3 separate regions of the Homo sapiens genome follow, and all the other regions are linked to region 2. The links are contacts of gene promoters, found by promoter capture Hi-C in blood cells and fetal thymus (Javierre and others, 2016). All regions are on one chromosome and are shown on one strand. The core of a region is centred on a gene start or on the middle of the fragment in contact, and the rest is flanking DNA. Distances in the headings are between cores, read along the strand shown.

The links. Contacts are between HindIII fragments. The CHiCAGO score rates a contact against its expected background, and 5 or more counts as called.
Region 1: a contact is called between a fragment that was not itself captured here and the fragment with the promoter of LNPK in region 2, in 5 of 17 cell types (total CD8 T cells, non-activated CD4 T cells, naive CD8 T cells and 2 more). The highest score is 7.7, in total CD8 T cells.
Region 3: a contact is called between a fragment that was not itself captured here and the fragment with the promoter of LNPK in region 2, in 7 of 17 cell types (total CD8 T cells, total CD4 T cells, fetal thymus and 4 more). The highest score is 9.6, in total CD8 T cells.

The regions. Positions count from the first base shown.
Region 1 is chr2:177,165,954-177,169,699 of GRCh38, forward strand. No RefSeq gene overlaps it. Among named protein-coding and RNA genes, the nearest start is that of MIR4444-1, 45 kb to the right of the region's middle. RefSeq lists enhancers at 848-1,366, 2,368-2,662, 3,547-3,746. The HindIII fragment of the contact is 3,119 bases long and covers 1-3,108 here.
Region 2 is chr2:176,000,530-176,003,947 of GRCh38, forward strand. LNPK (lunapark, ER junction formation factor) reads right to left here and starts at 1,738. Exons shown (of 13, transcript NM_030650.3): 1 at 1,631-1,738. RefSeq lists an enhancer at 1,932-2,151. The HindIII fragment of the contact is 1,642 bases long and covers 711-2,352 here.
Region 3 is chr2:177,142,672-177,146,283 of GRCh38, forward strand. All of the region lies in intron 1 of LOC105373760 (a long non-coding RNA gene), which reads right to left. Among named protein-coding and RNA genes, the nearest start is that of MIR4444-1, 68 kb to the right of the region's middle. The HindIII fragment of the contact is 3,583 bases long and covers 554-3,612 here.

The DNA of each region.
Region 1 (3,746 bases), core at 299-2,798, 1.2 Mb after region 2:
GGGTGGACTTCCTTTACCCTACACTAAAAATAAGATTGAAACTTGTTTTCTCCCTGTATCAGCCAGATTTCTACATGTGGTTTGTCAAAGGCTGCTCCTGAACTGGTTTTCCCACAGGATATCAGTGAATCATTACCCTTTAATCTCCAAATAAGATCCCAGAAATGAACAAGAGCAGAAAGTGATCTGGAATGCAAATCAATGTTTGTTTTGATGGCCTTTTGGTTTTCTAGTTGAAATCTCCCTTAGAAATTCTTTTATTATGGCACCTGGGTGACTTTGGTCTGGGAGAGAACATTCAGAAAGTGAAAATGAAGTTTGAGGAAGTCAAAAATGCTGCATAGCAAATGACGCAGAAGCTCAATGTGTCTGCATTGTAAAGAAAGGTCAGGTTTAATCCTTTGTTATCAGTCGTAATTTTGCTGGTCCCTTTCAGGAGACATCATGACAGGGAAACTACATTAACCACAATTTGGTATGCCCTAATCTTCATGCTAACTACAGTTTTCTTTTGTTACTTACTGGCCTTGACCTTTAGATGGACGGCATCAGGTGCTACTGAAACCAGCAGATCTCTCTCTAAAGCCTAGTGCAGGCCTGAGTCATATGCAGTTTAATTCATATTCCACTCAACATGCCCGTTTTATTTCCAGTGGAAATTGCTCATTTAATTGCACTGTACGTTTTATGGGGTATGCCCCAGGCTGCGTTCTTTATGCTAGGCATTTCAGTATTTATGGGCATAGCTATACCCAAAACTTCAAACATAAAAGTAAAACCAGCAAAATATGCTCTCCTCCAGTTCCATAAATGCTTTTCACCAGTTTCATTATTTTTTCCAATGAGATTAAATGGGTGTGTTAAACCTGTAACATAGACTATTACTTGGTGTTTCCAGAGCTTCTTTTGTCCTTCATATTCAAATCCAATACAGCCCCTTTTTCCTGCTTCTGAATGAGACTGCAAAGAGCAAGTATGGTCCTTCTGTGTATGGTCTAGCGCCCAGGAACAATAAAGACTTCCTCTGTTGGTAGCCTATAGAATTTTTATCTGTGAGAATAACCTGTAAAAGGTTTTGGTGTTTTTTGTTTTTTAATGAACTGTGCCTGCTTCTAAGTCACACCTACACCCACTAAAACACTGGATTAAAGATCGAATGTGGCCGGGCGCAGTGGCTCATGCCTGTAATCCCAGCACTTTGGGAGGCACAGGCGGGCGGATCACGAGGTCAGGAGATCGAGACCATCCTGGCTAACACAGTGAAACCCCGTCTCTACTAAAAATACAAAAAAATTAGCCCGGCGTGGTGGCGGGCGCCTGTAGTCCCAGCTACTCCGGAGGCTGAGGCAGGAGAACGGCGTGAACCCGGGAGGCGGAGCTTGCAGTGAGCCGAGATGGCGCCACTGCACTCCAGCCTGGGCCACAGAGCGAGACTCCGTCTCAAAAAAAAAAAAAAAAAAAAAAAAGATCGAATGTGTGTGTTGCAAAATAAATAAATATGTCAGCCTTGTACTGCAGATGGCTCCTGTGTTTTAGGGCAGGAGCAGACAGACATATGATTTTACCTGTAGCAGATCAGAAGGCATTCCCATACTACCCAAATGCAGAAAGGGCTCTACTATGTTTTACTAAACCTATGACTGTTTTTATCTGCTGTTATCCATCCCACTATATGAAATATACGAAAGCATGTTTCCAGGAAATTCCAGAGTTTTAGACAAACGCTTCTTGATAAAAGCCATTAATGGCTTTTTAGACAGTTTAAGTAGAATGGTACAAACAGAAGCCTCATCACAGGGGTTTCAGAAAAGGAAAACAAAAAGACAATAGGTATAGAACGACTCATTTGTCTATAGATTTGGAAAATGTCATAGGGTCGAGTGAAGATATTTGCCAAATTGAAGGAGGTAAGGACATATTTAGAGCCTCTGGGAAAGATGACAGATCTCAAGGACTAAGATTTGAATGCCGGAACAAAGCAGAATAGAAAAAGACTAGAGTTGTGTTTTCAAAAGAATAGGGAATATTTCGTAGACTTAGAAGGAGCTAGAGGTGGTAGCCTGAACTTTAGGAATAGGAATTCTTAGTGATTTGCCTGCAGTGTAGTAGATGTCAATGACTGAAGGATGACTGAGGATCTTAAGAAAGATGTGGCTTCTTCTTTCTCAGAAAAGCCACAGGGAGTGACCCCTGCAAATCCTTCCGAGTATAAGGTGTACACCCAGTGACAGCCTTCCTCACAGGACATAGTTATCACAGCATTGATGTGATCATTCCTCTCTTAATTAGGATTCAGTGCAGATGCAATTGGCTGAAAACCCAAAATAACAGTGGCTTAGGTAAGATAGAAATTATAGTCATTATTGGGATTATCCACACATTCTGGTTCTCCTGCTTTTAGGGCAAATAGACTACTTGCCTACCTTTTTGAAGTTAGATATGGTATGTGACTTGCATTAGTCAGCAAAATGGCATGTGTTATTTTCAGTTCCAAGCCTTATCAGTATACAATTCACTACATTCCTTTTGTCTTTGTCAGCAATGGTGGAAGCATTGGTTGACATGGACACTGTCAGCCTGGCTTTCTGAGTACCCACAATGAGCAGAGTCCCCCTGCTGACCAGCAATGGACATGTGGTGTGATCAAGAATAAACTTGCGCTGGGCATGGTGGCTCACGCCTGTAATCCCAGCACTTTGGGAGTCCAAGGCAGGCAGATCACAAGGTCAGGAGTTCGAGACCGGCCTAACCAACATGATGAAACCCCATCTCTACTAAATATACAAAAATTAGCCAGGTGTGGTGGCGCGTGCCTGTAATCCCAGCTACTCAGGAGGCTGAGGCAGGAGAATCACTTGGAGGAGGTTGCAGTGAGCTGAGATCACACTACTGCACTCCAGCCTGGGCAGCAGAGTGAGACTCCATCTCAAAAAAAAAAATAGAATAAACTTGTTGTTTTGAGTCACGGGTTAAATTTCTTTCTCACACAAAAGTCTGAGTGGTGGGGCTAGGACTGATACAGTGATTCATGGTTTGAGGGACCCAAGGTCCTCTGTCTTGCTGTTCAGCTGTGCTTGGCATGCTCATGCTTCATGGTTACAGCACTCAAGCTTTAAGCAGCAGGAAGCAGGAAGGCATGGAGAGGCAAAGGGTGTGCTGCACGTCAAGGAAGGCTCCCAGAAGCTCTCTTCCACTTGGAAACCTTTGGCCAGAACTTGGTCCCATGGCTGCACCTATAGTTGCAAGGGAAAGGGAATCAACGAAGACTGGGTGAGGCCAGCCAAAAATTGTGGGTTATTTGACCACATAAAGGGACCCGGAGGACTGCATTCTGCCTTAACTCTCAAGAACTCCTTGTATAAATGTGGAGATGATAGGATTGCACTGTCCCTCCCCATTTTTCATAAAAATAAAGAAGTAGTGAGAATATTGATCAATGTGGATGATGAGAGATTGAGGCCACCCTAACTAATTTAGTTGTTGGAAGGGGGATTTTTTTCTTCCCCAACACCTCCGTTGGTAAGAGATTATAAGACAACCATCTTCATTATGACCTTCAACAAGATTTGAAATGGACTCTTTGTAGTCATTTCATGTACTTGCTCATCTGGCTACTTTTAAAGAAACAAATTCAAATTTCTATTATCTGCTATGATATATCATTAACAGCCCCCAAAATACAAGATACAGAGATAATAGAACGGCTGACATAATCACATTTAAGTGAGTTTGGCTGTACATTCATT
Region 2 (3,418 bases), core at 488-2,987:
AGTTTGTATTTTTACAAAAATAGATTGCTCTCATTTTCTCTAGTATAAGAAATAGAGCAAAAAATTCTGTAGACTCTGCCATTAAATAACCTTGTAGGTCTTTGAAGGAAACAGCAAAGGAAGTTCTATGTTTATCAAATTCCAAAGTTAAGTATAAGCTATTTAATCACCATCAACAGTACCTCCATAACATATTATACTATACAATTGAAGAGTAAAGGTGATTTATTCTAGAATTCTAACTTTCAAATGTCCTAACTGAAAAGACAATTCTGAAATAGCCCAAGCCACATTTATTGCTCCTCAAAAAGAATTTTAATGAAAAGTACACCTCTATTATATATTAAGCACTCTTAATATATAATGATTAGTGCTTGCTTTCATGGTAAGTCAATTTTCATCTGAACTAAATACCACCAAAAAATTACTATTTGATTATAAATGTTTCTATGTGAAGTCATATATTTTTAATAGCCATATAACTTCTCCTTTTCTTGTATTTTCTTGTTTATATAACATATAAACACTATATAAGTTTACTAACATCATTACTGAGCTGATCTCAATAGATAACAGACAACCTTAAAATTCTAATTTAAACGCACCACTCCTGTTTAAGAAAATGTGTTAAAAGTCAACTTGGTCTTCTGGGGGCTGCTGAGGAAAAGAAATGAGCATTCCCTGCCAGTTTGAACATATTCCTGAAACCAAGCTTACTCACACCCACCAAACCGCTGTTGAATAGAGTCAATTTTGTCAATGCTGACACCCAGGCCATAAAGAAAGGAGGAAACAGTAGACACCGAGCAACACACACCGGAGGCCAACTGGGAAAAGCAGAACACGGAAAACTCAGTGATTCACGGGTCTTGCTTAGTACTGTGAAAGCACCATCAGCAAAGCTGAGTTGACCAATTTCAACTCTTTCTCAATCCGTAAACTATGAACTGACGGAATTTAGATTTGTTTTTCTCCTCCTACCACGCCTCTGATACAATGCACCTTCGCCCTTCCCCTCCACCCCACAGCCCACCATCCCTGAAATAAGGACAATGGTTGGAGAGTCTCTTCTCTAAGTAGCACGTACTCCACGCCCACACGCTAGAGCCCGGCAGCATGACACTGACAGTTTTCAGTCCCTTCTGGTCTTTCTAACTCTTGGAGCCTCCGCACAACTCAGAAAGAGAAGCGGAGAGAACGCTCAAAGCGGACAGCTGAGCGTAGGAAATGCTAGTTTGGGACCTTCTGACCTCTTTGCCCCACCTGTGTCGAGATAAGCTCGACACAAGTGGGCCAAAGAGCTGGGGCTCAAGCCAGTCACCACCCGGAATCTCCTAGAACCGAGCTGGAGAAACTACCAGCCCTAGAGGGGAAACAAGGGTTTCAAGACTCCAGCGCCACCACTGCCAGTGTGCTGGGAAATCCAGGGAACAAGGCGGCGAGCCTGGGTCTGCGCGGACCACCGCGCAGCCTGACTAGCAGCCGCCGCAGAGCTCTAGGCCACTTGGCAGGAGGCGGGGGCACCAAGGAGAGGCAAGCGGGGAACCCGCAGCTTATTTCCCAGGGGCACAGCTCAGCATGCCTCCCCGCTGCAGAGCCCTCCCAACTGCCCTCGCCTTGAGCGTTCTACCTGCAAGAAGCGGGCGCAGCCCGGCCCGGGCGTCCACCCCCGCCAGTCTCGGCCGCCACCGCCCAGCCTGCCTCCAGAGCAGGCAGCAGCCGCCACTGACAGAGAGACAAGCCGGGCCAACTCCTTCCCATGAAACCCCGCGCTCCAGCCGCTCGCCAATTGGCGCCGCGGTCGGCGCGCGCCGCTCCCCCGTCACGTGACCGTACCCTGGGCGGGTAGTTGTTGGGGCGGGTCGGCCGGGAGGTTAGGATCTTGTGTTTGTGGCCTCCGCAGCCAGCTTAGGCTGCTCGGTGTCGTGTCGCAGTTATGTACTGCCATTTATTATGACTCTTAGAATATAGTTATTTCTTACTCTTCCGCTGCCTCCTTTGCTTTTAAAGCCTGTTCTGCCAAGTCTCGCTGGAGAAGGAAACCCCTGAAACTGGTCCTGGTGGTCTCAGACCGCCGCGCGAGCGAAGAGTGGGGAGGACAAAGGTTGGGGAGTTGAGAAGGATGGAGATGGGTGCATCTGGAAGGGAGTCCGTCCTGAGGAGTCCCCCATCAGCTGTCAGCCAGCCAGCAGCAAAGCAAATTAAGACTACACAGCTCCGAAGAAGCCAGTTCCCAACCAAGCCAGTGGAGAAAAGTCAGCCCGGTCCCCAGGAGTGCTTGAGGCTCTGTCACTCTTGGACGTCAAAAAGGGTCATTTGATGACTGGACGCTTACCTCACCGGTGTGAGGTAAGCTTCAAACGCCGTATCATGTTGCTTTAAAACCTGCGGGTAACAGCATAAGCTGAGTTTTCTATCTTAGAACTCTTAACCCCAAGAACACTCTTCACAGGCCCTGATAGGTGGACCCACAAAAAAACCACTCAGGCTATATTTGACTCGGATTTGAAACGCTGCCGAAACGGTATTAAGTGTCCTCCTCAACTGGAAAAGACAAATAACAAATGATGCCTGAATGAGAAAAAGACTAGACGTGCACACAGTAATGTGTGAGCAGGGAAACTTCAGCGAAGGTTTTTATCATGCTTTACCCCTTTTACATGCTTTACCCCATGTGCAAACATTTTTCATGGGTTTTTTTCTATTTTTTATTTATTTTTATTCTATTTTTTTATTTATACACAAAAAAGTTTCAATGATTTTTTAAAGAGTAATAGTTTTAATATGTTACATTTAAACTTTGACGATGCAAACAGGTTGTCAAGAGAAGCAACTGAGCATTGTTTGGTTGGTAAGAAAATTTATTATACTAGAAGCTACCGCATAATTCACTGTGCAATTTGCTTGCCCTAATTGCCTAAATATTTAGTTACAGTTCTGTACACTTGCAAGGATGAGGGGAAGGGAACTGAAGTTTAGCGTGTCACTGTGGATCAGGCACTTTCCAAATGTAGAAGAAAATGAACAGAAACATTTCACCTGTTTTGATGTGGAAATTTAACCGTTTTGTTTTTCAACCTTTGCTGTTGCAAAGTATTAAAGTCCTGTGCAGTTTTGCAAATATATCTCACCGCAGAAAGATCTCCTTTCCTAAGAAGACTGGGAAGAACGGCTTTCCACTTGCCAGTAATGTGTCCTCTGGTTTCAATTGAGCCATCAGTGTCTGTACTCCAGCCTGGGCTACCAAGCGATACCCCACCTCTGAAAAAAGGGTAGCAAGGGGACAGAGAAGAGCTGTCTGGATACACGAGATTCCAAAAACCTAATCCTGAGATAAAATTCCCTAGGGAATTGCTCTACCGAGAGTAGAGATTTGACCTGGAAAGAGAAGGGAGAGAAGTATTTAATCATTAACTCT
Region 3 (3,612 bases), core at 1,095-3,594, 1.1 Mb after region 2:
AAATAGCCTTTGAGTTTTTCTTCCATTCCAAAAAGGAGTAAAAGGTCCCCCAAACCAATTGATTTAACACCAAATTTAAATAAACCCAAAGACCCTCTCACTTTTCACATTGAGTAGAACAAGGTCAGACTGGGCATCTTCCAAATGTAAAGGCTTAATTGGACTAATTCTTTCATGATAATAATGTATATTTAAGATAGCCACTAAAAATTGTCAATGCTAATTTAGTAGATCAATTCCATTAAATGCTTTGAACTTTTCACCACTTGCTAATCTCATCTATTACAGCTGCTGTTTTTGTTGAAAATCTAAGCTATAACTTAATATCAAATTACAACATTTCTAGGCAGACCTAAAAAATACTTTCTTATATGTGAAATATAACCTAAAAAGACTGTAAGTTGTGTAAATTGTAAGATTCTAGCCATAAAATTTCCTGCAGTCAAAATGCAGAAAGATCTTATCAATCTATTGGCAATTGACATTATGGTAAGAAGCTTATGGGTTTTTTTTTAACATCTTAGAAATAAATGTTTTATTGTATCTAAAATAAAGCTTTAACATTTGTGATTATTGATTGTAGACCCACCTTTATACACTAAATGGTTCAGACTGTAACATCAAACATAATGTAATTTAGGTAATACTTCAACTCACGTCAGTAGAAATGCCAAGGTTGTGCTCAACATTTAGGTGAACAATGTAAGGAATATGCTCATTAATGTAAAAAATAATATATTTGTTATTTAGCTAATGAAGAATTTTGAGACCCCAAACCACTATCGAATATCCAGCATGCCTTATTTGTCTGGAACTAGACTTCTGAGGCTATTTTTATTCCCTGTGATTTACCACCAGTATCCTCTGGGTGATAGTTGAGGAAACAGATGCTGGGAATCTCTCTGCTCAGTTCCTGAGAGGAGAGTTCTGACTCACAGCCTTGCCAGCTCCCTGCTTTGTACTCACATAAGCAAAGGGTGGTGAAGTAAAACGTAAATGACTGCCTGATTTCCAGTCTCTCATTGCCAGTTTCCTCAAAGTTTCCACTTACGCATTTGCCTCCCTTACCAATTTCGTTTGAAGTTCCTTTTCCAAAATCCTGAACGGCATGTTCCCAGGATACATTTACTTTTTCAAAAAAATTCATTCAGTGGGGATTTTCCAACTGAAATTAAAAAAAAAAAAAAGGAAGACTGGAGAGGGGGCATTCTTTTTTTTCGGCTTTTTCATTTACTGTCAATTGATTGTATTGATATCTGCAGAAGGAAGATGTAGATTTTTTTAAAAAAATTGTAAAATGTTCCCCTCTAAGCTCTAAGCACATTTTTCTTATGGAAAATCATAAACCTTCCTAAAAGTTTCCTGTATTCTGTTATTTATTGTGAAAGGATTTAAACTAACATAGATATGCTTCCATTTGGAGATTATACTTAAATTGTTAGTTTAAAAAAATTAATCTTTATTAAATGTCCACAAGGTATAGAGCATTCTTCTTTCTTTGTGCGTCTAGGCTGACAAAAATACACAGGGGGAAGAAATCTATGAAGTTTAAATACCTTTTATAATGAATTTAAAACAGAAGCATACGCCACATTATAGACTGAGAATTCAATTTCACAAGGCAGCAGTTTCTCTTAAAACTATTATTTTAGGTCGGGCGCGGTGTCACGCCCTGTAATCCCAGCACTTTGGGAGGTCAAGGAGGGTGGATCATGACATCAGGAGTTCGAGACCAGCCTGACCGTCATGGTGAAACCCGTCTCTACTAAAAATACGAAAATTAGCCAGATGTGGTGGCACGCACCTGTAATCCCAGCTACTCAGGAGGCTGAGGCAGGAGAATCACTTGAACCTGGGAGGAGGAGATTGTGGTGAGCCAAGATCCTGCCCCTGCACTCCAGTCTAGGTGACAGAGCAAGACTCTTTTTAAAAAAAAAAAAGCTATTATTTTACAGAGAAATTAAATTCACTGGCCAGAGTATGTTTTTACAAAGTTTTTCTTTAAAAACCTACCTTTACTTTATTGAAAACAATGGGACCTATATGGATAATTTTCTTTTTTTTTTTTTTTAGCTGGAGTTTCGCTCTTGTTGCCCAGGCTGGGAGAGCAATGGCGTGATCTCAGCTCACTGCAACCTCTGCCTCCTGGGTTCAAGCGATTCTCCTACCTCAGCCTCCCGAGTAGCTGTGATTACAGGCATGCACCACCACGCCTGGCTAATTTTGTATATTTAGTAGAGACAGGGTTTCTCCATATTGGTCAAGCTGGTCTCCAACTCCCGACCTCAGGTGATCCCCCGCCTCAGCCTCCCAAAGTTCTGGGATTACAGGAGTGAGCCACCACGCCTGGCCAATAATTTTCTAAGTGTAATCTTATGTGAGTAAATTAAATTTCCTTATCAAATGCCACTGAACTACCTGAATGTTTGCTTATTAATCCCATAATTTAGTGTGGCTTAACAATAGCCTGGATAATTGATTTAGACTATTTTTATATTAGGAAAACTTGGCAATTGTTATTGCATTTCAGATAAAAAGAGTTTAGGTTGACAAGTTAAGTCTCACAGCATCACCGCGACACCTTCTGGAAGTATATCTATGTGAGACGGAACAAGTCAACCTACTACTAATCCAACAGAAATCTGTCTGGGAGAAGGGGAGTGAGGAAAGGTGTCGGTTTGTTAGCATGTAGAGCAAGCAGCCTACTAAAGACTAAATTATTGCTTTCCATCACAAAGACACTTACCCATCCTCAAGTTGACCACCATCTTGTTCTCTGTGAAAGACCTGGCTGGTAGATTGGGCCGCCTCACTAGCATCAAATAAATATTCCTTACCAGCCACAAAGGGAAAATATATTGAGCCAGATTAGTAACATTCTAATAGAAAATGTGGCATTTTGAATGAGGAAAACTACTTCAGTGAAAAAATTTGGTAAGATGCCCACAATGAGCAAAGAACCTTAAAATGCAAGAGATTCTCCAGTGGAAAATGGCCTAATCTTTATGAACTAACTGCTACACAAAAGGCAAAAAGTCAACACAAAAATTGACATTTAAAAAATCTATTCGCCAATAATATTTTGCAAAGATATTATACACACACGCACGCACACACACACACACACACACACACACAGTAAAGGAAATATAACTGATGAATGATGCTGAACTACTTTTGTAGCTGTTTAACAGTTACAATCTTGGGGTCTATGTATGCACAAAAACACCAAGTAACCAAATGATTCAGTTAGACATTAAGCAAAGAAAGTCAGTGAAACTTGCTGTATGATCTGAACAACTATTTGGGCACCCAGGCAAAGAGGTAAATTCACCACTTATATATAAATGAAAAAGACAGGGTCAGTAATATGCTTGTTGTGATGCAGATTAGGGAAGGGTAAAAAATGTCTTAAATGAACACTTCAATTCTGGTATATGATTACAAAACTAAAATCCCTGCAGTATACACAAATACAATTGCCTAACTTCAAAGTCCCAGGAAGCACCCACAAGGAAAAAACACACTCTGATTTTAATGTCTTCCTGATCCCCTCAAATGGCCTAATATGTATAATATTGAAAGTCAATTCTGTAGCTTCTCAAGGGTTAA